Linked DNA regions of Homo sapiens: regions 1, 2, 3 and 5 are each linked to region 4. The links are contacts of gene promoters, found by promoter capture Hi-C in human tissues and cell types (Jung and others, 2019). All regions are on one chromosome and are shown on one strand. Each heading gives the region's core, a stretch centred on a gene start or on the middle of the fragment in contact. The rest is flanking DNA. Distances are from core to core; before and after follow the strand shown. Region 1 overlaps NALCN (sodium leak channel, non-selective). Region 2 overlaps CLYBL (citramalyl-CoA lyase). Region 3 holds the start of LINC00554 (long intergenic non-protein coding RNA 554). Region 4 holds the start of GGACT (gamma-glutamylamine cyclotransferase). Region 5 overlaps CLYBL-AS3 (CLYBL antisense RNA 3).

Region 1 (2,891 bases), core at 345-2,844, 550 kb after region 4:
GATTCCTTAAAATCTGGGATCCATCAAAACTCTCAATCAATCAGAATATTAATTTGATTAATTCAATCACCCAGAAGTAACCACAGACCTATCTTGAATATAGATTCCTTTAGGATGCGGCAATGCTTAGACCTAAAGAACCATAGCTTGACCCTAGAAACCACCTTCAGAATGAAGCCATCAATATTTATTTGACAAAGCACACCACAAGTATTATAAATATTCAATAGCTTTTTTGATTTACAATGTTAACAATACATTTCTGTTTCTAACTGGGAAAAAGTTTGAGTGGCTCCATTTTTCTTTTCTCACTTTACAAATATTAACAGGTTAATAATAAATGGGAAAGTGGTTATAAAAACATATGACCATAAGACACAAAACCACGGTCCAATGAATATGGCTTGATGAATGTCATTTCTGCTAGAAAGTTGTAGTGTAATTATTGTAACGAGCCACTTTATTGAATAAGTCTCCCAAATAAAATATAGTAATTGGGAATAAGCAATTACTTAAAATTGCATGGGTCGAAGGTGGTATCTCATTTGACTGTATTTGAATTTTCATGCACCCGTGAATTCATAATTAATCCCAAAGTGCATACGACAGATCATGTGTGTGGCAAGATGTTTCTATAAAATAAACTTTCTCTGGAATTGACATTATGCTTAGAAAAAAAATTTTAAAAGGTGATTAATGTGAGCATCAGCAAGATTAAAATGTTGATTATGGATGTATATAAAGGTGAATACCATTATAATATCATGTTATGAAGCTTTGAACAGTATCTTAAAATGTGAATTTTGTGAAGAGAATTTTAGATGATGGGTCAAGATTTCTTATTGTAGGCCAGGTGCGGTGGCTCACGCCTGTAATCCCAGCACTTTGGGAGGCCGAGGTGGGTGGATCACGAGGTCAGGAGATCGAGACCATCCTGGCTAACATGGTGAAACCCCGTCTCTACTAAAAAATAGAAAAAATAAGCCGGGCATGGTGGCGGGCGCCTGTAGTCCCAGCTGCTCGGGAGGCTGAGGCAGGAGAATGGCGTGAACCTGGGAGGCAGAGCTTGCAGTGAGCTGAGATCGCGCCACTGCACTCCAGCATGGGCCACAGAGCGAGACTCTGTCTCAAAAAAACAAACAAACAAAAAAAAAGATTTCCTATTGTAACTTATTTCAATATCATGTGTTCTGAACCCTGTAAAAACACTATGTGTAGGAGTTAAAATATTCATATAAACATGCATGTGCACGTGTGTGCATGCCATGCATACACCAAATCTTCGCTCTTCCTTTGGACTCCTAGGCACCCAGCACAAGTTGATCCCTGCCCTGTGTGAAACATCTTTTTATCTTTCTGTAAATTCCAATAGATTGTAAACTCCTTAGGATATGTATAATGTATTCTTTGTTTATTACATTTTCTTTCATTGTCTAGCACTGTGCATTGTTGGTGCTTGAAATATATTTGAAAATTGAATTAATTTCATAATATTAAAGTATTACTTTTTCTATCTTATATATTTTAATGTAGTTAGTCCTTGAAAATAAGAAATATGAATGACGTAAAAATTACAAAGAGGGACTGCTTATTTTGAAATGAATCAACTAACTTGATATATAGGAACAGCTTGTAATATTAGAAACTAAACAATTTAAAACTTAATGGATCTGATTTTTTTTTGCACGTGAATGTTATGACAATGTTTCGGCCACTAACACAGTAGCCTGGGGTCACTTGGTCAAATCTCCAACATCTTACACATCAAATAATGAAACTGTGCAAAAATCGAGGGAAAAGCAATATCTTCGAGTACTGAAACAAATTTAGATAGGTTTAATATACAGTACTTAATGATAAGAAACTATAAATGCCCGGGTGCGGAGACTCACGCCTGTAGTCCCAGCACTTTGGGAGGCCGAGGCGGGTGGATCACGAGGTCAGGAAATCGAGACCATCCTGGCTAACACGGTGAAACCCTGTCTCTACTAAAAATACAAAAAAATTAGCCGGGCGTGGTTGCGGGCGCCTGTAGTCCCAGCTACTCAGGAGGCTGAGGCAGGAGAATGGCGTGAACCCGGGAGGCGGAGCTTGCAGTGAGCCGAGATCGTGCCGCTGCACCCCAGGCTGGGTGACAGAGCGAGACTCCGTCTCAAACAAACAAACAAACAAAACTATAAATATACGCTAGATAGATTTTAATTACAAAAGTAAAATACAAAATGACTTTATGATTATATCTAATATAAACAGGAAGGCAAAGATTGGAAATCTGCAGAGACAAAAGAAGGTGAGTGGGCTTGTGATTCTAGAGTAAATGTCAGATGCTTTTAACCTGTTTGTGAATTTAGAAATTCCAAAATTTTTTTTTGTTTTGAGACGGAGTCTCGCTGTATCGCCCAAGCTGGAGTGCAGTGGCATGATCTTGGCTCACTGCAACCTCCGCCCCCTGGGCTCAAGCAATTCTCATGCCTCAGCCTCCCGAGTAGCTGGGACTATAGTTGTGTGCCACCATGCTCAGCTACTTTTTTTTAGTAGAGATGGGGTTTCACCATGTTGCCCAGGATGGTCTCGAACTCCTGAGCTCAGGTGATCCGCCAGCCTTGGCCTCCCAAAGTGCTGGGATTATGGGTGTAGAAATTCGAAATTTAAGGTCTGTGGCAACACAAGGAAGCAGGACTTGGACTCAACACCATCATCAGCAACAAATACAACACACTGAGACTAGCATGACACTTGATAGAAGAGACAATTTATAAGTAAAACTGTAGTCAGAAGAGGAAAAAGTTTAAAAAGAAGAGCAAAATGTAAATTTCCAAGATAGATTTAGCAGCGGCCTTAACTCCTTGATACCTCTTTTGTGCATGATACAGAAAATGCGATTAAAAATC
Region 2 (2,794 bases), core at 195-2,694, 710 kb before region 4:
CGTTCAGTCTCCCAACATAGATTGGAAACTCCCAGAGCAAGCCTGGGGAGCCTTTGGCAGAGAGGCCATATTTACTCCAAAGCCCAGTGTCATCTCAAGGACATCAAAGGACAGGTCCCCAGAGTCACACTCTCAGTTACACCTGTGACCACACACACCCCATGGTGTTCAGTGCCTATGGCAGCAAGATCGAAGTGATGGCCAGGAGAGGATCATTTTGTTCCTTGGACACCTTTCCCTCTCTTTCCTCTTCCTGTATTTCTCCCTCTAAGGATGGATGGGTCTGTGTGTGTATCTTTCTGTTCCACCCTCATTTTCCTTGCCCTGAATTCTCCATTTCCTCTTTTTCTTTACATCTTTTTCTTTCTCACTACATCATCTCCACACCCCAGGCCATCCCTCACCTTCTTTCCTGTAGCTAATTACATTAGAGACTTTCAGAGCATTCTTTTATTTATTTATTTTTTGGTTGTATTAATTAAAGAATTTTGTAATTCTTTTTTTTTTTTTTTTTTTTTTTAAGACAGTGTCTTGCTCTGCCAGCCAGGCTGGAGTGCAATGGCGTGATCTCGGCTCCCTGCAACCTCCGCCTCCCGGGTTCAAGTGATTCTCCTGCCTCAGCCTCCTGAGTAGCTAGGATTACAGGCGCACAACATGCCTGGCTAATTTTTGTATTTTTAGTAGAGACGGTGTTTCACCATTTTGGTCAGGCTGGTCTCAAACTCCTGACCTCATGATCTGCCCACCTCCGCCTCCCAAAGTGCTGGGATTACAGGCGTAAGCCACCGCGCCCAGCCCAGAATTTTGTAGTTCTTTTTATACTGAATTTTATTAAAAATACAAAGCAACCATTTCTATAATTGTCTTTTTTTTCCCCCACTTTAGGTCAGTGGGCCTCAAAAAAAAAGTGAGGCAATTTCTTACCACTACCTTAGGGAATAAAGAATTCTCTCTACCGTAGCACGCACCTCCCTGCAGCATCTTGGGCAGAAATAGGTACACGAAACACATTTAGTAAACATTATTTAGCTAACTGGTTTCCAAATTCCTGACAATGCTAAAAAAAAATTTATTAGATGTACTTTTAACAGTATATATGACATACTTCTGCTGCCTTCTAGAAAAATTGAAAGAAGATGTTTCCATCAATTATTTCATCAGTTGTTATTCATCAATTGTGCTTTGAAAAAATGTACCAGTATTTTAGTAAATCTTTCAGTCTCTTCTAGTTAATGTTAACTCATTAAATCTGTTTTCCAAAGAAAGAATAAGCCTGCATTATTGGTCTTAGCTACAAACTGCTATAAATGGCATTCATTGTTTGCTTTTCTCATAGGCAATAGGAGCTTAAATTTGATGTCAAACATTTTTAAATAAAGACATTTAAACATTTGGCATGTTACACATTTGTCTTGGTTTTAAAAATAATTTTTAAAAATCTTTAAAGAAGATTTCTGGTTTCAAAAAGAAATCTGAGATGGAGGTGATAGTAGCGGAACTCTACATAATTACTAAAAAATCAATGACTTATGCACGTACAATGGGTGGATTTTATGGTATGCAAATCGTACCTCAATAAAGCCACTTTAAAAATTGAGAAAATTAAGCACAAAACCTAATTTGATGGCAAATGTGTTAACTCCCTTAGATTTTGATACACTTGTAAATCCAATTGTCTTCACCTCAATACATAGCTTTCTACATAGCATACTTGGCTTTATTTTTCCAGATTTCCTTGTGAAAAGATATCGAAAACAAAGACTTGCCTACTCTTGCCTGATTATTCTGCCTGAATATTTTTAAAGAGAAATCTTGCCATCTACATGTTTAGACCCCGAGGAAAGTTTTAAAAATAGAAGGCTACCTTGGTCTCTCGGATCAGCGTTTAAAGTAAGCATGGCTCTGGTCCGTGGAGACCCAGACCTGGGCAAGTAGATGATTCGGGATGGTCACATATGCAGATAACTGGCACACACATGCACCTCAGCTCTCCTCCCTGTTGTTCAGCCGCCTCGACCTTTCCTGCCCTGCTCCTGCCAAATCCATCTTCCAAGCCTTCTACTGCTTCTCCTTCCCCATTGCACCCCCGACTTCCTGGAACTCTTGGTAAAGTCCTGAATTAGTCTTGCCAAGAACAACACACAAATCTTTCTATTTTCTAGCCCCATCTTTCCATTTATTTAGCTAAAGCTAAATAATTTCATCCTGCCTTTGTAAAAAGCAGAATGTTAACGCTGTCTATTCATTTTACATCCACTCAATTTCCACATTCCAAGAAATGTCCTCCCTTTTGAACAAATGTGTCTAGCTATCATCTTTGCTACACCTCTTCCTTTTCTGGTCCATCATCTGCTGAAAGAACGGTGTCCTGCGTTTCAGTACCTCCTCCTCCGTGTAAGCCAAGCTCTGGACTTCAGATCATCTGCATTTGATTAGCGTCTGTCCTCTGCTGATATTCTAAGTTTTTTAATTTTTCTAAATTTATTTGTTTTCCTCCTGAGGCGCTGCCAAATATATAGCATCCCTGAGTCTAGTTTCTTAAGGAGACAACTAAATCTATGATTTATAAGAGTTTAGAGGGGACAGGAAGCTTCAGGCATGAGCCTGTTTCTATTCATTGTATTTTCAAAAACACTGATGTTTCTCAAACTCTTGCAGGTCTTAAAACTACTCTGAAATCATAAAACCCACTTAGAATTCAAACAGTCTGCTTCTCACTGGGCCATTCTGTGATAAGTGGAATTAAATAATCTCTGGCCAGCAATAACAGTAGCAATACCAGTAGCAATGGTGG
Region 3 (2,715 bases), core at 101-2,600, 590 kb before region 4:
CTAACTGGTATGCGTTCTTCTGCCCAGCTCCTGATGATCTAGTTGAATTCTAGACATTGTGCCAAGAAGTGTATTTGAAGCAGATAAGTACGTATAATACAAATGCGTCTTGTTAGACCTGATGGATGCTATTTTTCTTTTAATAGGTTTGTAGCAAACTAACACAATAACACAATGTATTCCTTTTCAAGATACATTGTTGAAACAGGTCTATTAAGAGCGCGTTGAGCTATTTCTCGCTTCCATTGAACAGTCTGTTGCTCAAACACAACAGCCAACAAACGCCAGCTGCCTCAACAAAAGTAGAAACCTAACCCTTTTATGTAATGTTTTAACAGAAAGGGTAGCTCTGTTTAATTAAAAACATTGATGATTCAGTGAAACAATAGAAACTCAAGTTCAAGTGGTGCTCTATTGATTTAAGATGATTTTTTACTAGCAATGGGTATAATTCATTTTTTTTCCAGTTCTCTCTTGTGTAAAGGGGTTCCTTCTGGGGGCATTATTTGGGTGAATAGGAAAAGACAGAGATGGCTATTGCCTTAGAAACCTGATTAACGTATATTGCTTTGAGGGTAAGGTGTTTAATTTATAAGTGCACCCCATATTTTTTGTCAGTTTATTCGCGGTGGGGAAGCTTTGAAAGTAGCTCCTCTCAGCAGGTTAAAAAGTGAAGTCTGCGTCCTGGCATTTAAATGTCTTTGTTATTGTGTCAGGCAAGTTGTTGAAAACTGCATGCCCGGAATATTAAGGTTGGGCGGCTAGAGGAGGCAAGTTGTGTGTGTGTGTGTGTGTGTGTGTGTGTGTGTGTGTGTGCGCGCGCGCGCCCCTGGGCGCAGGGCTGTGTGTGCGAGGACAATTATTTTCATCAGCTGCTTGCTAGCCCGCGCCCGACTGCTCCTCTTTGCAGAACCGACGGGCTTTCAACTCTGGAAGTGAAGCAGGACGAATTCCTCCATGGAGACTCCCTCCTTGGGAACGTCGAACTCTCTCTGCCTTGGGGAGTGGGGCTCGATAAAGGGTACCTAGGTCGCACCCTGGCAGGGGAGCACTAGAGGGCCGCGAGGTCCCGGGTTTCGCCATCCTGAGACCCCCGCGCGGATGGCCCAGGAGGGGCGCGGCGGCCCTGAGTCAAGGTGGGCGGGGGCAGGTGCTTCCCTCCACCGCGTTGTCCTATGCCGGCGCGGTCCCCACCGCCCGACCTAGCCCGGCGCCGGCCGAGCACGGCGGCCGCGCTTCGCACTCCTTCCTCCCACCGGGTCCGCAGGCCCGGCTTCACGATTCCCGGGCCCTCGGGCATGTGAGGGACTTGAGTGAATGCAGCTCCCTCAACTCACTCCCGCAAAACCACAGCCAAGAGGGCCTTAAGTCAGAGAACCCGGCCTAGGAGCCTCCCCTAGAGCCTCGGCGCGGGCCCCTTCCCCTTCCCCACATCGGTCGGCCGAGGGAGCCTAGAGCCGGTGGGAGACGGGCAGCGGCCTCTCCTGATCCTTTCCTGCGGTCATACAAGTTCCTAGGGTGGGCCGAGGACAGAGCGCCTCAGGCATCGTCGGCTTCCCACGGCTGCGGCCCAGGCCCAGCCTGCGGCCTTGGAGCCATTCGCTCCAAGCCCCGACAGGCCGCGACCGCCTCGAGGGCCGCACTTCCGCCTGCTACCGACTTTCCGCGCACCCAGGGGTCAAAAGGCACGGCCCGCCTCTACCCACTTCCGGGGTCCGGCCTCCCCAGGTCCGGCTGGCCCCCACCCAGCCCAGGGCCCCTGTGGGTCCCGGAAGCCGGAGGACCGCTGAGACCGAGGCCTGGAGCCCGTCGCCCTCCGGGCCCACCTTGGCGGATGACAGTCGGGGAGGCCGAGGCCAGAAAGGGACCCGCGGGGGAAACGTCCACAGGGGCCCCTTAGGCCTACAGTGAATTATTTAAGCTGTTCCTGGTGTTTAAAGAGGTTTTTCAGTTTTTAAAGAATGTTGTAAAAAAATATCAGTCCTTGTTAACTCCCTCATTACATGCTTTTTTTCCCTCAGCTGAACAAGCTCTATTTCCTGAGTCGCAGGAGTAATGTAAGTGTTTAAACGTGTGTCAAGTGTCTTATAAATAATACAAATTCATACAGAAGAGGAGGAGATTTAACTGATACCTGAAGGACTTGGCATAGCCACATTTGCTGTGCGGTTGTTTTTGGACAGGGACGTGTGGTCGGGAAACCGCCCTGACAGCGCCTGGTGGGGCTCTGTCCTCAGCTCAGCCCTGTGAGTCTGTCCCCACCCCTGTCTAGGAAAGCCCAGGAGGAGTTTGACCAGTTCGTGAGAGACGGTCCAGTGGTCTGCAGTTTCTATACTAGAGCGTCTATACTCAACTCAGTATTTTGGAGTTCCTTTTCTTATTTTTTATTTTTATTTTTTGAGACGGAGGTCTCACTCTGTCGCCCAGACTGGAGTGTATATAGTGGCTCAATCTCGGCTCACCGCAACCTCTGCCTCCCTGGTTTAAATGATTCTCCTGCCTCAGCCTCCCGAGTTGTTGGAACTACAGGCACCCGACACCACACCTGGCTAACTTTTGTATTTTTAGAAGAGAGACGGTTTCACCATGTTGGCCAGGCTGGTCTAGAACTCCTCACCTCAGGTGATCCACCTGCCTCAGCCTCCCAAAATGCTGGGATTACTGGCGTGAGCCACCGTGCCCAGCCCTGGAGTTGTTTTTCTGTCTTTTCCTTTC
Region 4 (2,700 bases), core at 105-2,604:
TTTACAATACGAATCTCTGCTAGAACACAGTGGTCTGCTTATTCAGGGAAGTCTGGCTTCTTCTGGGAATAGTTTCAGGAAAACAAGGCATTTTGGGAAAATACGGGCAAACTGCAGGTGCTCTTCATCTGAGCATTTCAATAAATTGAATGAGGCCAGGGAAAAGTCTTCACTTACAGGTAAATGTACATAAGGACACCTACGTGTGTGTAAGACCTACACTTTAAATAGGTCACCTTTAGTTTTTCATTAATCATTTCTCCTGGGACATTTAGCAAAACGAATAACTTGCTTTTAAAAAAGGCCACAAATCCCGGGTGCAGTGGCTCATGCCTGTAATCCCAACATTTTGGGAGGCCAAGGCGGGCGGATCACGGGGTCAGGAGTTCGAGACCAGCCTGGCCAACATGGTGAAACCCTGTCTCTACTAAAAACACAAAAATAAGCTGGGCGTGATAGCAGGCGCCTGTAATCCCAGCTACCCGGGAGACTGAGGCAGGAGAATCGCTTGAACCCGGAAGGCAGAGGTTGCAGTGAGCCGAGATCGCGCCACTGCACTCCAGCCTGGGCAACAGGGCAAGACTTCATCCCAAACAATAAAAAGGGCCAGAAATCGACTGCATTTTCTTATCACTTAAATATTAAATCAACTAAGCGTGGAGTTAAGAAGCTGTGTTCAAAAAACACTTAAGTCTGCTTTTGAGCTTGTGGCGTTGTCCTTGGCCCACAGAGTAAAACAGCAATGATAACCATAATTAATAATCAAGGCAGTAAATTTCTTCAAAATTTCAGAAGTTTCACTAATGGCTCCAAAGAAACCTTAGATCAGAAATTCACAAGTGCCAGGAGACGTTTTTAGATTTCTTTTGCAGCTTCTAGTCTCCTTACAAACAGGAAATCTTTAAAATGAAAAACAATTTCTGAGAAGTGTTAGCCCGGTTCAGCTGAGGTCCTCTGAAAGCCAGCGTGTGGGCTGTCACGCTTCCTTTACAGGGAAGCAGCGCCCGTGCGTGAGGCGGTTCCTGGCTTTTACCGCCCTCTGCCCGTTCTGGCAATCGCGCCCGTGGCCCCCGCGCGGGGCAATGGAGGACGCGTTTCGGGGTCCACCGTCCCCTCCCTCCGGCTGGCCTCGCCGGCCGGCGGCGCCCCAGGCCTCCTCCCTCACCCGCGGGGACGCCGAGTGCTGCGGCCTCGACCCGGACGCCGCGCAGGGAGCGACGCCCCAGGTTCCCGCGGGCGCCAGGACACCCCGCCTGGGGGGCGGAGCAGGCGCAGCCCCGACCCCCGCCCGGGCTCAGCGCCTCACCTGCCGGCAGCCGGGGCTGTCGGGGAGGGCAGGGCCAGGGCGGAAATGCAGGGCCGGGCCCGCGCCTCTGCTCCCAGGCCGCCCCCGGCGGCGCCCCCTGCAGGCGGAACGCGAGGCCCGCCAGCCCCTGCGGCGCCCTCGCACACACGTGGCCGCTCGCACAACTGGCCGCCTAACAGCCAGACCCACCCACGCCGATGCCCGCCGGAGACGCCCCGCCGCAGACACAGCGCAACCAGCTTCACACACCTGGGGACGCCCCACAGAAGTCACATCCACCCTAACACACCTGGGCACTCAGGCTCAAGCCCCGACTGCATGGTGGACCCTGACACACCTGGGCCACACCCCACAAAACAGACTCACAGACGACTCCACAAGCTTGGGGACACGCCACATCAAATGGACACACATGCACACACAAATGAACCCAAGCGCAGACACACTTGGGGATGCCAACCATGTGTGTATCTATCACATCACACACCACCAAGGCCCCCCAGCTGGGCATGCACACAGCCCTGATACCGAGTCCAGACCGCCATCTAGTCACACTGCCCACTTACTTACCAATACTCTTAAAATGAAACTGTGGCCGAAGGAGACAATGGAAGGATGACATCACCTCTTCCCTAGCTCCAGGACTAATTTAAGCCCCAGAAATTATAGGACTGAGAACCAAAATCGAAAGAGAACATTTTCCCTAGAGACAATGGGTTAAAGCAATGCCACTTGGGGGCCAGGTGGTAGGAATGGTACAGCTATGGAGAGAGTGACACTTCTGTCTCTCCGAAAGACACAAATCTGTGTTTATCAGATTAGCAATAATCCCCCTTAATCATTTCCTGCCCTTTCTACTTTCTCATGGATGTGGACTGATTGAAACCTTTATATAAACTGGTTTTTATCCAAACGTTTCCAACAATGCAGATGTAATTGTATTTTGAACAGATGTACAATTCCAAAAGAAATCTAAACCATCAGGTACATAAGTCGTTGGTTTTCACAGTTTTTTCTTGTCTTGGACACTTCATAATTAAATTGAAATGTATTAAAAAACCTTGTCTAGCTCATATTAATATTTTTTTTTTTTTTTTTTTTTTTTTTGAGACGGAGTCTCGCTCTGTCGCCTAGGCTGGAGTGCAGTGGCGGGATCTGGTTCACTGCAAGCTCCGCCTCCCGGGTTCACGCCATTCTCCTGCCTCAGCCTCCCAAGTAGCTGGGACTACAGGCGCCCGCCACTACGCCCGGCTAATTTTTTGTATGTTTAGTAGAGACGGGGTTTCACCATTTTAGCCAGGATGGTCTCGATCTCCTGACCTCGTGATCCGCCTGCCTCGGCCTCCCAAAGTGCTGGGATTACAGGCGTGAGCCACCGCGCCCGGCCTCATATT
Region 5 (2,704 bases), core at 64-2,563, 670 kb before region 4:
GAGTTTCCCCCAAGGACAAGGGCTATTTCCCTCCCACTCCCAGTCCCAGGGACATTCTCCTATTCAGCCAAACCTGAAGGATGGGACTATGGGTGGCCATCACCCAGCTCATTTCCCCAGCGGTTCCCTGCAGAGAATGGCCAGGTCCCACCCCCCCGATGAGCCTACTTCTCCATCACAAATCACAGAGGCCCCAGACTCATCAGGCAAATAGCCCTGGAGGTGTCACTTTCCTCCTCAGACAGGAAGAGTAGTTGGAATCCTGTCACTCACCCAAGAGAAGAAGGTCCAACGGGCAGAGGACACCAAGCTCATTCCCTTCCTCCCTCTTCATCCCCCAACCTCTCCATCTTTATCTTTCTCCCGATGGGGAGCACCTTCTACCTTCCTTCTACATCTCATCGCCTTCCTAAGTTCTAGTTCTTTCTTTTGGGTTGGCAGACACCAGAGGGCAACATAATCTCACCTACTTGCCAGTTCTCCCATTTCACCAGTAGAGGGAAGAGTTTGAGAGAACCTACATCCACCAGGAGTATGTGGAAATTATTTTGAAATATGGAATTAGCCAGAGCAATAGAATAGCTCTCTCAAAGGCATCCCGTGCCAAAGCATTCTGTTCCCGTTGGTAAATAATCTGTTATAAAACTGGTTAAATGCATATTAACTCACCAGAGCAAGACACTGGCAAAATTTCCCCCCAGGCTGTATTTTGCAAAGAAAGCACTTTCACATGATGTCAGACCTGAGATTCAACTAACACAAGTCACATATTTTCTAAGGTAGTACTGACGCTCCATCCCTCGCCCACCATTTAGTCTTTTGAGATCTGGTTATTATTTTGGTTCACAAATAGTTGGTAAGGCGTTGAGCCCTGACTGTCTCGTTGTTTTCGATACATGTCATTTCAGCAATACGGGTGCTTCCAGGGGGCATATGGGCAAGTGAAGATGAGTGGCTTAGAACTGATTATGCACTGGGTGGCAGAGTCCTTGAGACAATAGGTACCCAGGCAGCCACTGTCAATCTTGGAAGTCCGTGCAAGAGCACACCTCACCACACGCTCCCCATTCCGCCATGCATACCGAGAAAACTAGAGAAGGGTCCCTCCCGGGGAAAAATGTTTGGAAGGAGGGATACAGAAATAAAACTTGTGCCATTGACTATTTACCAAATTATTATCCTGACCAAGTTAACATCAGGACCTTTAAAAAGTAGCCAACACGGAGCCGAGCGATCTGCTCAACCATTGCAATGTGCTCGATTGTTTGGATCTAATGACCTGACCTGGATATTTTCTGCTTGGTATCCCTAGCATTTGAACCACTTCCAAAGCCAGAGGTTTATGGAGCCTTTGAATGCCCTAAGAGTCTGTGATTCTCTCCTTCTTTAGATGGACTTTTTAAATCCTAGTTGCTGAATTTATTCAAGTGAATTGGCCTTCATTTCTTCATCAACACCCTTTCTTTAATAATCTCCAACCAAGGTTCTTATCATAAGATCCAAAATTAGATGAGCATTTTGGCCAGGCATAGTGGCTCATATCTGTAATCCCAGCACTTTGGGAGGCTGAAGCGGGCAGGTCACTTAAGGCCAGGGGTTCAAGACCAGCCTGGTCAACATGGTGAAACTCCATCTCTACTAAAAATATAAAAATTAGCCAGGCATGATGGCATTGCAGGTGTGTACCTGCAATCCTAGCTACTCGGGAGGCTGAGGCATGAGAATCACTTGAACCTGGGAGGTGGAGGTTGCAGTGAGCCAAGATTACACCACTGCACTCCAGCCTGAGTGACAGAGTGAGACTCTGTCTCAAAATAAAAATAAATTAAAGAAGTAGATGAGCATTTTCATAAATCCCTTGAAACAGTGAGCACAATTGTATGTGTGTGTCACATTTGTGGGCTTTCTGGGGAGAAGGCCCATAACTTCCATCAGATTCTCAAAGGGCTCCACGACCCTGGCTTTTCACTATGTATTTCTGACGTTGACTAGACCAGAACTTCCCAGTCAGTGTGCAGGATGGGTTACAGGTGTGTGCCTGAGCTGCTGATCCCTACAGCCCTTGGGTCAGGAATGGCAGGGACTTCCAAGCTGGTCATCTCTTGCCAAGAGCCGCCCAGTTGCCATCAAATATTATTTTCTCTGTGTGCCCCACTACAGTAAACTCCTCACTTCTAACCCCTCTGGCATCTTCGTTCTCTGTGTCTCTTCCTCATCTCCACGGCCTTCATCATCCAGCGGGAAGCTTGGCATCGGCCTGGCTCCCTCTAGTGTAATCTGCACTTGGTATACTTTGTCAAGAAAGGGCAGGGGTGTGGTGGTCTCCCCTTCCTAGAAGCACCGCTACCCTCATCTTGGGGATCTGCCTCACCTGCCATATAGTGGTACAAGAGACCAGCTCATTTCATCGCCTAAATTACCCCTCTCACTCTAATCCCACATATCTGCCCGTTTTCTGTGGTAGCTATCCTTTGCCTATGTGTCTAGAAGAATCTCTATGCCAGTTCCCTACTTGGCTCCCAGCTTTGTTACAAATATTCCTCAGTGCACATTTATGCAGAGGCTTTTTCCAACTAAGACACTTAAATCTTACGCAGAATCCACGTAGAGCCAAATTCAAACACAAATATGACAAACCAGCTGGACATGGTGGCTCAAGCCTGTAATCTCAGCACTTTGGGAGGCAGAGGTGGGCAGATCACCT

Evidence for each region. Contacts are between HindIII fragments. The study calls those that stand out against the background at their distance.
Region 1: a contact is called between a fragment that was not itself captured here and the fragment with the promoter of GGACT in region 4, in 3 of the 25 tissues and cell types used here (IMR-90 fibroblasts, lymphoblastoid cells and mesenchymal stem cells).
Region 2: a contact is called between a fragment that was not itself captured here and the fragment with the promoter of GGACT in region 4, in 3 of the 25 tissues and cell types used here (dorsolateral prefrontal cortex, lymphoblastoid cells and mesendoderm cells).
Region 3: a fragment that was not itself captured here is called in contact with the fragment with the promoter of GGACT in region 4 in 1 of the 25 tissues and cell types used here (mesendoderm cells).
Region 5: a fragment that was not itself captured here is called in contact with the fragment with the promoter of GGACT in region 4 in 1 of the 25 tissues and cell types used here (dorsolateral prefrontal cortex).

The regions. Positions count from the first base shown.
Region 1 is chr13:101,133,041-101,135,931 of GRCh38, forward strand. The region is part of intron 17 of NALCN (sodium leak channel, non-selective); the gene reads right to left. Among named protein-coding and RNA genes, the nearest start is that of LINC00411, 190 kb to the left of the region's middle. The HindIII fragment of the contact is 3,783 bases long and covers 1-2,891 here.
Region 2 is chr13:99,877,075-99,879,868 of GRCh38, forward strand. All of the region lies in intron 7 of CLYBL (citramalyl-CoA lyase), which reads left to right. The region is part of intron 1 of CLYBL-AS3 (CLYBL antisense RNA 3); the gene reads right to left. Among named protein-coding and RNA genes, the nearest start is that of CLYBL-AS3, 79 kb to the right of the region's middle. The HindIII fragment of the contact is 6,924 bases long and covers 1-2,794 here.
Region 3 is chr13:99,996,253-99,998,967 of GRCh38, forward strand. It overlaps LINC00554 (long intergenic non-protein coding RNA 554), which reads right to left and starts at 1,657. Exons shown (of 1, transcript NR_047483.1): 1 at 1-1,657. RefSeq lists an enhancer at 1,268-2,213. The HindIII fragment of the contact is 3,433 bases long and covers 1-2,715 here.
Region 4 is chr13:100,587,435-100,590,134 of GRCh38, forward strand. It overlaps GGACT (gamma-glutamylamine cyclotransferase), which reads right to left and starts at 1,355. Exons shown (of 3, transcript NM_001195087.2): 1 at 1,307-1,355. RefSeq lists a silencer at 988-1,507. The HindIII fragment of the contact is 6,002 bases long and covers 1-2,700 here.
Region 5 is chr13:99,916,217-99,918,920 of GRCh38, forward strand. The region is part of intron 1 of CLYBL-AS3 (CLYBL antisense RNA 3); the gene reads right to left. Among named protein-coding and RNA genes, the nearest start is that of CLYBL-AS3, 40 kb to the right of the region's middle. The HindIII fragment of the contact is 5,590 bases long and covers 1-2,704 here.